Regions from separate parts of the Homo sapiens genome. Here region 2 is linked to region 1. The links are contacts of gene promoters, found by promoter capture Hi-C in human tissues and cell types (Jung and others, 2019). All regions are on one chromosome and are shown on one strand. Each heading gives the region's core, a stretch centred on a gene start or on the middle of the fragment in contact. The rest is flanking DNA. Distances are from core to core; before and after follow the strand shown.

Evidence for each region. The method cuts DNA at HindIII sites, captures the fragments that hold promoters and counts their contacts. A contact is called where the count stands out against the background at its distance.
Region 2: a fragment that was not itself captured here is called in contact with the fragment with the promoter of LSM5 in region 1 in 1 of the 25 tissues and cell types used here (lymphoblastoid cells).

The regions. Positions count from the first base shown.
Region 1 is chr7:32,486,772-32,494,104 of GRCh38, reverse strand. LSM5 (LSM5 homolog, U6 small nuclear RNA and mRNA degradation associated) reads left to right here and starts at 3,725. Exons shown (of 5, transcript NM_012322.3): 1 at 3,725-3,785; 2 at 4,761-4,856; 3 at 5,453-5,480; 4 at 6,348-6,420; 5 at 6,812-7,333. The coding sequence starts at 3,740. The coding sequence ends at 6,844. RefSeq lists an enhancer at 3,773-3,822. The HindIII fragment of the contact is 28,883 bases long and covers 1-7,333 here.
Region 2 is chr7:33,878,352-33,885,898 of GRCh38, reverse strand. No RefSeq gene overlaps it. Among named protein-coding and RNA genes, the nearest start is that of BMPER, 23 kb to the left of the region's middle. The HindIII fragment of the contact is 4,552 bases long and covers 1,509-6,060 here.

The DNA.
Region 1 (7,333 bases), core at 2,476-4,975:
CCAGCACTTTGGGAGGCCAAGGCAGGCAGATCACCTGAGGTCAGGAGTTCTAGACCAGCCTGGCCAACATGGTAAAACCCCCTCTCTAGTACAAAATACAAAAATTAGACCTGTAATCCCAGCTACTCGGACGGCTGAGACAGGAGAATTGCTTGAATCCGGGAGGTGGAGGTTGCAGTGAGCCAAGATTGCACCATCGCACTTCAGCCTGGGGGACAAGAGCGAGATTTCCTCTAAAAAAAAAAAAGATATATATAAAAAGAGGGTCAGGCGTGGTGGCTCATGCTGGTAATCCCAGCACTTTGGGAGGCCGATGCGGGCAGATCACTTGAGGCCAAAAGTTGGAGACCAGCCTGGGCAACATGGTGAAACCCCATCTCTGCTAAAAATGCAAAAATTAGCCAGGCATGGTGGTGTGTGTAATCCCAGCTACTAGGGAGGCTGAGGCAAGAGAATCACCCTAACCCGGGAGGTGGAGGTTGCAGTGATCTGAGATGGTGTCACTGCACTGCTCTCCAGCCCAGATGACAGAATGAGACTCCATCTCAAAAAAATAAAGAAAGGGAGAGAGAGAGAAAGAAAAAGTTAGTTACTGGGAAAATTGAGACAGAAAGTGAACAAGGGAATTTCCAGGATTTTTTTCATCTCTAAATACACAGACTGGACCACTTAAGAATTTAGAATATAGGTGGGGCATGGCGGCTCACACCTGTAATCTCAGCACTTTGGGAGGCCAGGGTGGGTAGATCACTTGAGTCCAAGAGTTCGAGACCAACCTGAGCAATGTAATGAGACCTCATCTCTACAAAAAATAATAAAAAATAAATAGCCAGACTTGGTAGCACGCGCCTGTGGTACTGGCTTCTCAGGAGGCTGAGATGGGAGGATTGCTTGAGTCCGCGAGCACACCACTGTACTCCTGCCTGGGTAACAGAGTGAGGTCTTGTCTCTAAATTAATAAATAAAATATGATGGGGTGTTGCTATGTTGCCCAGGCTGGCCTCAAACTCTTGGGCTCAAGGGATCCTCCTGCCTCAGCCTCCTAAGTAGCTGGGGCTACAGTTGCCTGCCACCATGCACATCTTACATTATGTTTTAAATGAGTTGTATTAATGTAGAATAAATTCATTAACAAGATATTGTCCACAAGGACAAATGTCTATTGGGAAAATAATAAAATTTCTAATTTAACTCGAGGGAGAAAATTAGAAATGCCTTTCTGAACATATAATACATGGAAGAGCCTTTGGTAGTTACATGTATTTTATGATAAATTATAAATTCTATTTTACGTCTTCTACTTAAGACTTAAAGGGAGAAAAATCCTTGAGACATAGAGCTATGACATATTTTCAAGTTCATAACAACTCTCCATTTGGAATTGGCCTGTTCTTCCTTTTTGTGTCTTGCCTCAGGAGAGAAAATAATAAAAATACCACTCCCTGAAATCCCCATTAACTCTACTATGTAAGTGAACTATATATCGTTCCTTTTTTCAGATTCTAAAGAGATTTTCTTTATTCTTTATTAGTGGCATTCAAAATTGCTAATGTTTATTCTGTTTTTTTTTTGTTGTTGTTGTTTTGAGATGGAGTCTCACTCCGTCGCCAGGCTGGAGTGCAGTGGCACGATTGGCTCACTGCAACCTCTGCCTCCCAGGTTCAAGCGATTCTCCTGCCTCAGCCTCCTGAGTACCTGGGACTACAGGCGTGTGCCACCACACCTAGCTAATTTTTGTATTCTTAGTAGAGATGGGGTTTCACCATGTTGGCCAGGATGGTCTTCATGTCTTGACCTCGTGATCCGCCCACCTCGGCCCCCAAAGTGTTGGGATTATAGGCGTGAGCCACTGTGCCCAGCCTATTTTTCTAATTTTTAAAAACTCTATCAAATAACAACAATGTTTTGAATTCTCCCATACTGTCAGTATGGTATGGGGAAAATAAAATAGGAATAGAAAAGGAAAACCAGGAAAAGAGGTGGTTTTCAACCAAATGAGGATTGGACAAAAAGAAAAAAAGAGAAAGAGAAAGAAAGAAGCGTCACAAACAAATCTGGCATTACTTCGTATTTAAAATCTTATGAAGAGTAAGGAGAATGTTGATGGGTGTGAATGAAATAGTGAGAATCAATTTAAAGAATATTCATTAGGCGCCCTACAGTGTGCCTGAAAATGTAGTGTGCACAGTGTATAAAATAAGAAATTGCTTCCTTAAAGTGGCTTATGTCTGGTTATAAAAATAAGATGAATGCAAAACCAGCTAGCAATGCTAGCTTTATGTAGCTTCACTCTGAGCCAGACATCATGTATTAGAAAACAAGGATAAGTAATAACAGCTCATGTTTAAAAGGGCTATGTGCCAGGTCCTATGCTGACCACTTTTCATAGATTATCTCAATTAATCTTCACATTAATCTTATGAGTAGATACTGTTGTCCCCATTTTTTCCAATGGGTATATTGAGACTTAAAAAGTTAAAATAACTTGCCCATTGTCAAATAACTGACCATGGAATTTGAACCAAAGTCATTTAATTCAAAATGAAGAAATTTAATCACGTAAACTACTGCTTCCCATAATTCTCAGCCTTGAGGAACTCAGTCTATGAAGGAATGATGGGTGCTTAATGACCATTTGTTGTATGAATGAATGACGTTCTTTGTGGCCGCTCATGTTTATTGTTTAGCTTTTTTTTTTTTTTTTTTTGAGATGGAGTTTCGCTCTTGTTGTTCAGGCTGGAGTGCAGTTGCATGATCTAGGCTCACTGCAACCGCTGCCTCTCGGGTTCAAGCAGTTCTCCTGCCTCTGCCTCCCGAGTAGCTGGGACTACAGGCGCACGCCACCACGCCCAGCTAATTTTTGTATTTTTAGTAGAGACGGGGTTTCACCCATGTTGGCCAGGCTGGTCTCGAACTCCTGACCTCAGGTGATCCGCCCGCCTCGGCCTTCCAAAGTGCTGGGATTACAGTCGTTACCACTGCGCCTGACCTAGACTGTTCAGGTTTAAGTTCCTAGGATACAAATATAAAACAGACTAGGGCCGATACTTTGCTGTTTTCAACACAGAAGTGGAAAGCATGATTTTACACTTCTGGAATAATTTAGAGTGACATCTGGTGGTTGCCTGTGAGACAAGAATTGTTGAAGAAACTGAATTTAAAAGCCTATAATAAATAAGACTACCAGACATAAAAAGATAAGAACGATGAATTAAAGTAGTAAAAAGTTTAAAAAACATATCTTAAATCCTCACTAAAGAAAAATTTTAAAAAATGCTAGTTGCAGATTTTCAATCCACTGGACTTTAAAAAGAAACAATAGATTCCTTAATGAGTAGTTGTAACGAAAATTGTAACAGTTAATTGATGGCAGGAAATACGAATTGATTTATACTGGTTTGAAGATTCTGGCTTGAGAGGAAATGCAACTTTACGGGGGAAGAAGACTCAAACGTTACAGGAACAATTTATTCACAAGGCAAAATATCTTCAACGTCTCTCCAAAACTTCAAGGGCATTATGGGTATCTGCCGAGATGGTAAAATGTCCAGTGGGCAGGAAATATTTCACCGGATCTCACTTGCCGGGGAAAAAAGCCAGTGAACGCGACCCACGCAGCTGACTAGATCGTGCGCTCGGCCTCAGATTGGTCGAGCCTGTTTGGGCTGCGGAAAAAGCGGAAGCGCGCTTTTCAAAGTCGTCCCACCATCAATGAAGGCAGGCCACTTCCGGCGTAGCCATGGCGGCTAACGCTACTACCAACCCGTCGCAGCTGCTGCCCTTAGGTAATCGCCGTCCTTTGGGGAGCAGGAACAGGGAGCTGACATTCAGGATTGGGGGCCGAGGGGCTGTTCCGAGGCAGGCCCTGGCCGAGTGTGGGGAAATGTATAAGACCAAATGCGGTTCGACTCTGAGCTCCAAGTCTTCGCGACAGCAGGCCGCACCTGCTCTTTAACGTGGTCGGGCTCCTCCAGGCAAGGACTTTGACTTCTCAAACCAGACCTTCACTGGAAAAGGTCCACATTTAGTGAACGCGTCGTCGGCCTACTTTGTTGTGAGCCCGCCTCTGCAGTGTTATAGGTAGTAGGCCTACTTCTCAGCCTGGCGTTTACGATCCCCAGATTAGATAGACCATGTTATGTATGTGGTTGGTTAGTGACACTAACACCCTGGTCCGGAATGAGCCTTAAATGAGGAATCTGGAAACCAGCTCTGTTTGTTATTTATTCATTCAATAAGTAGTAACTGAGTATCTATACACTAGATACCGTGCCTGGGCATTTTTCAATGATAAACCATAGCCATTGCCTTCAAATAGCACACAAGCCAGTGGAGGAGAGAACACTGGACAAGTAGACATCATGCCACATAATGCTAGGCTAGCTAAAGAGATGTTCAAGCTACCGTCAGAGCACAGAGGATAGACAGAGTTGGGAAAGGGAAGCAGTGACCGGAGAGTTTCCGGTGAATATAATTATACCTATCTCCTCTTATATTTTTGTAGTTGGTGAAGAGTGATTGAACTAGTGGTCGTGGCCGTGATTGAAAAGTTTTCATTCCTTCATGCCACAGACTCTTTTGGAAGGCTCATTATGTGCCAGATGCTGTGCTTGAACTGAGATTTGTATTATAAGACCTAAAGTTATTGAATGAATGTTTTTCCTGGTTTTTCTTTCACTATATGCAAGTAAGAGTGCCAGTAGGCACTCAAATATTTGTTGAAATAATGAATGGTAAAATAATATTTTTTCCCTCCTCAGAGCTTGTGGACAAATGTATAGGATCAAGAATTCACATCGTGATGAAGAGTGATAAGGAAATTGTTGGTACTCTTCTAGGATTTGATGACTTTGTCAGTATCCTTTTAAAAGGTGGTGGTGGTATAGGTTTTTCTTAAGTAATAACATAAGAACTATAGACAATCAGTATATTTGTGATTATTATAATAAAAATCAGTTCATTCTCAGGGAACTTATGATAATGTTTTAAGAGGTATGTATTGAAAGACGGTAAAGTTCCTATCAACAACAAGCATTTTGAATTTGAGCCATTGTATTAAACATTGTAATTAAAACTGAACAGGCGAGCCCAGTGGCTCACGCCTATAATCCCAGCGCTTTGGGAGGGCGAGGTGGGTGGATCGCTTGAGCCCAGGAGTTTGAGACCAGCCTGGGCAAGATGATGAAACCCTGTCTCCACAAAAATTACAAAAATTAGCTGGGCATGGTGATGTACACCTGTGGGTCCAGCTAATCTCCGGGGCTAAGGCAGGAGGATCCTTTAAGCCTAAAAGGTGGAGGCTGCAGTGAGGTGTGATTGTACCACTGCACTTAAGCCTGGATGACAGAGCGAGACTTTGTCTCAAAACAAAAACAAAAACAAAAAACAAAAGCTGAACAAAGGCAGAAGCTAGAGTAAATTCTGTATTTATTTTCTTAACACCAAATTTCAGATATGGTACTGGAAGATGTCACTGAGTTGTGAGTAGTGTTAAAGAATTGGGGGGAATCTCTTCTTAATTAAAGACAGTTTTACTACTTTTGAGTAAAATTATTTATGAGAAAACATTACCTCTTGGTGGAATAACGTTAAAGATAGACGTTTTATCTGTTTGCTTGTAAAATTGGATCAGAGTGTTATTACCTTAATGTAATTATTAGTAAACGCCTAGAATATTAGTGGAGACACAGTTTTAAGGTAGAAGATAACAAAAAGAGCCAGGAATTTTAGGGTTCAGGTCAAATAAAGGAACTGATAGTAAGAGCATTTAGGCTGGACATGGTGGCTCATTCCTGTAATCCTAGCACTTTGGAAGGCCAAAGGAGGAGGATTAAGCCTGGGAGTTTGAGACCAGCCTGGGCAACAAAGGGAGACCCCTGTCTCTATAAAAAATTTAAAAATTAGCTGGTTATAGTAGGGGGCAGCTGTAGTCCTAGCTGCTCTGGAGGGTGAGGATCCCTTGAGCCCAGGAGTTCTAGGCTGCAGTGAACTATGATTGTACCACTGTACTCAGCCTGGGCAACAGAGCAAGACCCTGTCTCTTAAAAAAAAAAAAACCCAAAAAACATTTCATTTCATATTTGATTTCCTGGGCAAGCTTTCACTTCTTTTTATGAAGCTCTGTCTGATAGACGTGGGTCTTAGTGTCAGTGAGTTCATTCTGCTGCTTTTAATGAAGGTTACATTACCTAGTGGATAACCTTTGTATCTGAAAATTGTGGATATAATTGCTCAACCTCAGTGTAATTTGTATACAAGGATAACCTTTTTAGGGAGGGTAAGTATTTCCAAAATGTTGGCTTTGATTTTCACTGTTTGTCCTGACTGTATTTTATCTATTCATTTAGTGAAATCACACCAGAAGGAAGAAGGATTACTAAATTAGATCAGATTTTGCTAAATGGAAATAATATAACAATGGTAAGACACATTGAAACTGTTTTATTTTGATGGGAGCCCATTTTTGGGGAGCAGTGATTACAGAACTAACCTTAATGTTGCTTGCTTGACTAAATGATCATGGCCCAGTGGTGCATAAGATGGGAAAGGGGTTCTCTGTGGTCAGGGTCCTAAAGCTCAGCTATTGAAGAGGCATTGGGTCTAAAGGTTAGTTTGCTTGGAACTTTTAATCGCTGTTGAGATAGTAAGTATTAATTGATGACGTTGGGAATTGTAAATAGATACTGACAATCTGGAGAAAATGGGAACGTGGAGTGCAGGGGACAGGCAAAGGTGGCTTAATGAAGAGCAAGGGGTTTTTAGATGACATGGTGGTAGTGTTATTAATAAACTCTTTTTCCTCTTTATGCAGCTGGTTCCTGGAGGAGAAGGACCTGAAGTGTGAATGAGTTTCCTTGACTTACACTAGATTTTGTTTTGGCTTATAATGACAAGAAAATGGAATTTTTTTTCCCACTTTCTAATGTTTAAATCCCATAAAGCTAAGTTTCCCGTTAAAGGGAAGTGCTTTGAAGATGTGTACCCATTTTTGTAAGTTAATCATGATTATCCTGGAAAAAGAAGAAAAGAGCTTCTTCTTTGCAGATGAAAATAAAGGTGTTTTTGGTTAACTGTCATTTTGTTTATTCTACTGCAGTAGCCAGTGGAACAAAGTTTGTAGTTATTTTGCCACTTACTTTTCTGTCATTATATGCTTATTTGTTTTGTCATTTACGTGACCATTTGATTCTCAAACAAAAGTTGTTCCAAACAAAATGATGAACTTTGATTTGAACAGGTGCATTTAAACAACCGGAAATGATCACTTAGAAAATTCAATTAAAATGCTGTTGTTTTGTAATGAGGATTTTTCTTCTGATTTCAAATTCCATGA
Region 2 (7,547 bases), core at 2,535-5,034, 1.4 Mb before region 1:
GTTATTTACCAGTGAAAGGAATCTGAACTATACTTTCAGTGTTTACATTCCTGAAACCAAGTGAGGAGACACAGCCCCTGGGAAAAGGCTGGCCAGAAACTTGAATGGGCTTCCTCCCTCCTATTTCTTCCTCCAGCTTCTTTTAGAGAACAACAAGAGGTTGAAGGTGTCATCTTTTTTCTTACATTACCCCATGCCTGCATGGGTTTATTCACCTATCCTTTCAACAAGCACTTAATGAGCATGTATTATGTGCCTGACCATGTGACCGGTCCTGGGAACCTAAAGATAAATTAAGCAGGATCCTTCAACAGACTCTGTGTGTGTTTGGTGGGGGGATGGTGGGGTGGCCGTAAATGTCAGTGGGTGTTAAAGTGCTGTGGCAGGGCCAGAGAATGCAGCCACGTGGGAGGACCCACAGCTTCTGGTGATGAGTGAGGGACAAGTGGGTATGTGCTATCTGGAAAACAGCAGGAGAATATTTCCATAAGAAAGGGCAGCAGGGACAAGGCATGAAGCAACATGACCCTCTGAAGAACCACAGGTCCTCAGGGGCAAGAAGGTCCCCTCCAGAAATGCAGCTGGACATCCTGGCTTGGCTGGAACATGCCATGCTACAGGGTCCGGGCTTTTCTCCAACCCTCCAAAGAGCTGCTCTTCCAAATTAGAGCAGCTGGCAGGTTACTTTCCCAGGCACATGGACCTGGTGCTTCCTCAGTTTCCCCCATCTGCAAAACATAAAATAATTCTTCTCCAAGGCCTTGCATGGCCTGGATGAGCTACACAGAAAGTATTATGTGGCTTCCAACTTTCATCTGCTTTATTGGTTCATGAGTGAAAACGTTCATTTATTTTTATGGGACACATGGGCTTGGTGATTTTTTATTATTAAAAATGAAATTCTTGAGAAAAATTCAAAACTTTGGTTTCACAGCTTTCTACAATATTACATTTGGATTCTGTGTCTCTCAGGCAAAGCCAAAGAGCTGAATGACAACAAACCATGTGGGTTTCTTTTGAAATAAAAATGAACGTGTGCACAATTTTCCCCCATTCCTCCCCTCCCCTTTCCCACAAACAAAGACTCATGAACATTTCACTTCACTGTTTTCCAGGGAGTTGACACCCAAGTAATGAGTGGGCTGGTTGGTTGAATAAGTAAAGCTGATTGTGTCAATCTGTGACCACCCAGGATGACCATTTTGACAAATACTTCCCAAGAGGAGGGAAGAGGAGACAGTGCCCCCACCCTCCGACCTTCCTGAGTGATCGTACTTTTGAACCGCAGATCCCAGAGAACCAGGACCTTCTGCTTTTATATTGAGGCACACCTGTGTCTGGGATGAGGGATAGGAGTGGATGTGTGGATGCTATGGTGATGTCAGCCCAAAATGGTGGGAGAAAGAATAGGCTTTGGAAAGAAATGAGCTTGATTGAGGGGTTGGATGACATGGGACCATGAGTCTTCAAATGGGGTTCAAGAAGCCCTCACATCAGAACGATCTGTGTTGCTTGCTTAGAATGGAGATTCCTGGGACTCCACCTCAGTTCCTAAATGGAATCTTTGGGAGTGAAGTAGAGGAATCTGCGTTTTTTATCAGGACTCCAGGGAAAGTTAAAAAATTACTCTGGGTCAGACAGGAGGAAAAAGCCCAGATACTGCCACTCATTTGCTGAGTCAACTTGTCAAACCTCAATTGCCTTCACCCATACAATAGAGATAATCTGTGCCAGTGGGACTATCTGTACCAGTAGAACATGGTTGGCTGCAATAAACATAATTTCCAATATTTAAAAATAATATAAGCATTCATTCACTCACATAACCATAAGTCCCAAGAAAGTAGTCTCATGGTAGGTAGACTCAGCATTCAAAGGCTTCGGGAGTCTGTCTGCAATCATTATCTCCTTTTGTGCAACTCTGTTGTAGCCACTAAACAGTCCCATGTGTTCTGGTCCAGGACCTTGAATTCTGATTCCATTTGTACAGTGTAGGATGTGTTGTCATGATAGTAAGATGGCTCAAATCTTTTGTGCATGGATAACGTAGGTAAACACAAGTAAATAAACAATATGAGGAACTCAGGAATGAAAGCATATGTTTGTTCTGCTATAACTCCACAGGGCAACCTCACTGTGTGTGAATGGGCAGCTGGCTGCCCTTGTTGTGAAGAGTTTCCTGGTTGGGGTTAACAAGAATGAAAATCAAAACAGACCAGGCTCAAAGCCTCACCCCATCCCGTCTCTACTCAGGGAAGGGCTGAGAGCCAGGGGAGGAAGTAGGAGGAGATCAAGGTAATGGGTCTTGTGGATAAACCAGAAAAGGAACTGTGGGCAGCTCTCTTAGAGAGCCACAAGGCTGGCACTACAAGATAACCAGTCTAGACTGTCTTCCAAGGGCTGAGAGACAAACTCTCACCCCGTGCAGCCCGACCAACAGGCCCACCCCTTTGCTGTGGCTTCCCAGCTGCTGCCACCATGGAGTTGTCAGGAAATTTGTGATAATTCTTTTTATTGATCATCTCTATTGATTCTGTCTATGGTGAAAATATACTGCAGACACATTAAGTAGCTATTATAGGTAAATTGTCTTTTAATGAATTGTACCAACAGACAGGATTTTACAGTTAACCTTAACTGGGACTCAGACTTCTCAGACACTGATGATCATAGAGGGACTAGATGCTAGTGCAGAAACCAAGCTGACATTGGACCATGGAGATTCACCTGGATACTACCAGGACATGCAAAGACCTGCCCAAATGGGCAAGCCTGAATAAGCATGGGTTCTCTTCTCATTGGGAGATAAAACAAATCACCATAAAGATCACACAATGATGAATCCTATGACTCTATTTCAAAAGCATACAAATTTTGCCATTTTCCTCAACTTTAAATATTTGCCAATTAGTCTCCTTATTTCAAAACTCCATCAAAAAAGGCAGGGGGAGGGCATCACTTTGGATGAACTCCCTGTCTTGTCTCATATCTTAAAGCCAGGTTATTGCTTATGAGAGACTAGAAGAAAGCAAGACTTCAGCACTTTGTAGAAGGGTTTTCTTCTTTCTTCTTCATGCAGTTTTTTGTTTGTTTTATTTTCTTAAAAAAAAAAACAAGCTCTGTGTGTGTGTGTGTGTGTATGTGTGTGTGCATGTGTGTGTGTCTGAATTTTGGCAAAACTGTATTGAGAAGAATCCTTGGAAGCTTAAGTCTAATCTGCCAAATTATAGCCAGTAGCAACATTTTTCCACTTTGTTATCACATCCTCAAAACAGGGCTTGAAATAGAAGTGTCACTTTGTGGTGGTGCTAGCAAATACTCAGAGTACGCAATGACCAGAAGCAAGACTTTGGCTATTATTGTTTTACAATGTAATGGGCAAAAATCACCATAAAAATATGCTATCTCTGATGGGAAAATGGTCCTTGCCAAACTTTTGAAAATTGTGATTTCAACGGTTTGGCAGGAAAAAAACCCTGTATTTTGACAGAAAATGAATTATGGCTACAGGCATTGAATACAAAGGCCAATGTCTCGATTGTATTTGAGTTTTGGTTTTAAGGGGAACAATCATTTAGGGCTGGTCACGTGATAAAAATCCTCTTTTCTTACACAATCTACGGGAAATAGAGTAGCCCTTCCAATTCTCACTGGCCAACATGCCAGAATCCTTTTGGTACAAATCCAAAGGAAGGTTCCTCTCCAAATCAACAGAACCCAGGCTGCTGCTTAGATTACGTGGACTGAACGCTGACTATAGGCCAAGCTCTGGGCTCACAGCTTTGGTCCTTCTCTTCTGACTCTCAACAGAGCCTCTGTCCCAAGGCTGTTTTGCCTCTTGGTTATAAGATGGCTGCCTGCAGCAATCAGCATTCATTTGTGTACTGATTCCACCCAACAGGACAAAAACAAGAAAAGAACACTTTTCTCCCAACATGGGATGCAAACAATTCCTGCTTGCATAGTTGAGTCAGTTCAATCATGTGCCCTCTCCTAAATAACTGCAGATGTTAGGGAAGGACCATAGGCTTCTTGGTTTACATTGCTCAGAACACCTCTTTGGAGCTGGAGACAATGTGGACACCTGGATGAACCTGGGGCTCTGTTCAGAAATCAGGAAGTGAACGTCCGGTGGGCAATCAAAGGTGTCTGCCACATGGTCTTATTTAGTGCTTACTATGCAGTGTGTATGATTTTGGTTCATGAAGAAATTGAAACTTACAGATATCAACAAATGTGCCCAAGTTTACATAGCTGGTATATGGTGGAGTCTGGGCTTGAACCCAGGCATATTGAATGAGGAAAGCTCATACCTTTAACCTCATCATTCTGCCGCTTCCTTTTAGTCAGCGTTCCAGGCTGTGCTTCCAATATTTTTCTTTATACATGTTTATTGTCTATGCCACAAAGAAGTGACGTTTTTCTGTTAGTAATATAAATAGCAAAGAAGTATGAGCCAATGGGATGTAAGCAATTGATTCTGCTCTCCGTTATTGCCTTCCTGCATCTGCTGCTACACTACAAAACTTAATGGTTTAAGATAGCTATGTTAAAGGATAATTTTCAAAATAAGGTAAAACCATAATCTCATGTAGGTATAGGATGAGCACATGTTAAATAAAATGAAGGAAACAGATAGATGTTACAAGTAATTCAAAGAAGTCAAAGAAGCATAAATTTATACGGAGCAAAGGGAAATTGAAATGCAAGCAAAAATGGGATAAACCTGACTTTTGCAGGAAAAGAGAGTGCTGTTCCTCCACTGGACAGAATTCATTTAAATGTGTATAGAAAAGAATTATTTGTGGTTGAGATCAGTTGTTTATAATATCACAGAGCTGTGAAATAGCTCCCATAGAATTAGAATCTGATAACCCAGAAGGGTGTGCTGTAGACAATGCATAGTTTTCCATTGAATTTCTTCCCTATACCACAAACATTCACTTTCTCATGACTTTACAATTTGGGCTGGATTCAGCTGGGAAGCTCTGCTAGTTTCACCTGAGATCATTCCCATGGCTTTGATCATCTGAAGGTTTGACTAAGGCTGGATAGCCCTCCCTACTAATTAGTGCTGGTTCTAAAATTTGTACCCACAGGGTTTTAATTGATAGAAGAGACTGAGTGACAACATGGAGAGGTTAATGACCTTGAGAGAAGATTTTTGTTACTTACATTTCCCCAGAGAAGGGGGCATTCCAAATCACTCAGGACCACATGGCAAAGAACTAGGTTTTGATTTAGAGGCAGAAACAAGAGTAAGGGGGAAGCCTAGACCTGAGACTTTATTGAGATTTTTGCAAAAAGGAAAGGCAAGACAGAGTCAAAGTTTAGAATCATCTCATTTGAATAACTCTGGGGGGCTCGGAGACATAAAGACTGTCCCTGGTTGTCTGATACCTGGCCCTGGATTGATTTAGGACAGGGGAGATATTGGCTTGGTGTGTGGGAGTTAGCTGAAGGGGGTTGGGGGACAGCACTGGGCTGAACAGTCTATACATGAAAGGCCAACACCCCCAGGAGTAAGCTAGCTCTGCAAGGGTCAGTGTCTCCCCAGGTCTGAAAGACCTGCAAGATGTCCAAACATCTTAACAATACAGAAAATACAAAACATGATTAACACAGTGCTGCCATCAGCTGAGCCACCTCCATTCTCTTCTGAGTGGCCTCTCATTATCCAGTCCACTTCACTGGGTGTCCTGTTATGGCAGCTGAGATCCAAGAGGGAGGGCAGAAGCTGGCAAGACCTCTAGAGGCCAAGGCTCAGAAATGACAACAGTGTCACTTCCACTGAATTCTATAGGTCAAAGCAAGACACAGGGACAGCCCAGGCCCAGGGAGGTGAGAGAGAATCCTCTTTTTCATAAGAGGAGCCACAAAGAATTGGTGACCATAGTTAATCTACCCATAGAAACTTATCAAATCACTCACCAAATTTTACTGGAATTGCTTGTTGATATGGCCAACTCACACACTCACACACTAAATAAGATTCTTATGGGACGAGACTGTGCCTTATTTATCTTTGTACTCAAGGGCCTGAAATACATTAAACACTATTTGTCCAAAGCTAATGGATGGAAAGATCATTCAGCTGGATGGAATTAAATGAGCAAAGATAAGGAAGCAAGAAAATACAAGAACTGTTCAATTTCCCGAAGCTGTTCAATTTAGTGTATGATGGATAGTAGAAAACAAAAGTTGTAAGAGCCTTGTATTCAAGACAAAGGACTTGGACTTAGTTCTTGGGAAATAGGATACCACGAAAGGTCTTTGAGTGAGAGAATGACTGGTACTGTTGTGCCTCTAACATTGCTTAAATTAACTGGTGGCTGGGATGAGGGGCCAGTTTAATCATTTTGCCACAACAAAGACAAACACTAGGGGACACACAGGGGCTACTTTACCTTGCAAGGGATGCAGTCAGTTGTCTTATGCATCGACTTCTTGTCTCATCAGTTCTGTTGCAGAATGGCCTGAGTCAACTTGGTCATTCACAATTGTCCACTTCTTTTTGGTTGATTTCTTTAGCCTCTATTGAGAGCTGCAAGTCTCTCATACCCTCAACAGCAGATCATATGTTACAGTGAAATCAAATCTCTGACCAAATTCTGCCTCATGAACAAGCAATTATTAACATATAGGCACAAAAATATCACAGAGTCTGCTCATGTAAGTTCAGGGAGGCATCACTGCATTCTTCAGACTCCCTGAAAAGTAGCTTGCTTGAGGGTTTTACTTGGGGCAAAGGCCACTGTGCTCTAACAGTAGATCTTAGCTAACCTGAGTCCATTCAAGCCACATGATCCCTCCATGTTATGGCCAAATCTAAGACTGAATGAGAGTCCTGGGCCTAGGGTACCACTTGGGAGAGTACAAGGCTCTGGGCTTTCCACATTCTTATGCCTCTCGTGCAAAAACAGAGGTACTCTGCTGTCCATTATTTCTAGTCAACTCACATATTTTATACACCACTCCTTTCACAGATGTATGCATTTCTAATATTATTTATGCTATTTAACAAATGCCCTGATATAAATCTTTAAACAGCTTTATTGAGGTATAATTCACATGCCATATAATTCACTTACTGTTAGATCAACTAGTACAGATCAAAACGTGATCCCTGTAGCTCTTGTGTATTAGTTATCTATTGTTGTCACATAAAAAATTACCTCTAAATCTAATGGCTTAAAACAACATTTGTTATCTCAGTTTCTGTGGGTCAGAAATCCAAATACAATTTATCAGGGTCCTCTGCTTTGGGGTATCTCACAAGGTGCAATCAAGGTGTCAGCTGGGTTCACTGTCATCTCACGGCTCGACGCAAAAGGATCAGCTTCCAAGGAAGGCAAGAGAGAGAGAGAGTGCTAGCAAGATGGAAGTCACAATCTTTTATAACCTGATCTTTCAGAACATCTCAACACTTTTGCTATATTCTATTTGTTCAATCAAATTGCTTGGTCCAGCCTATACTCAAGTGGAGAGGATTACTGCACAAGGGTGGAAACGCTGGGAGACTGCCTACCATACCTTATAATAATTTC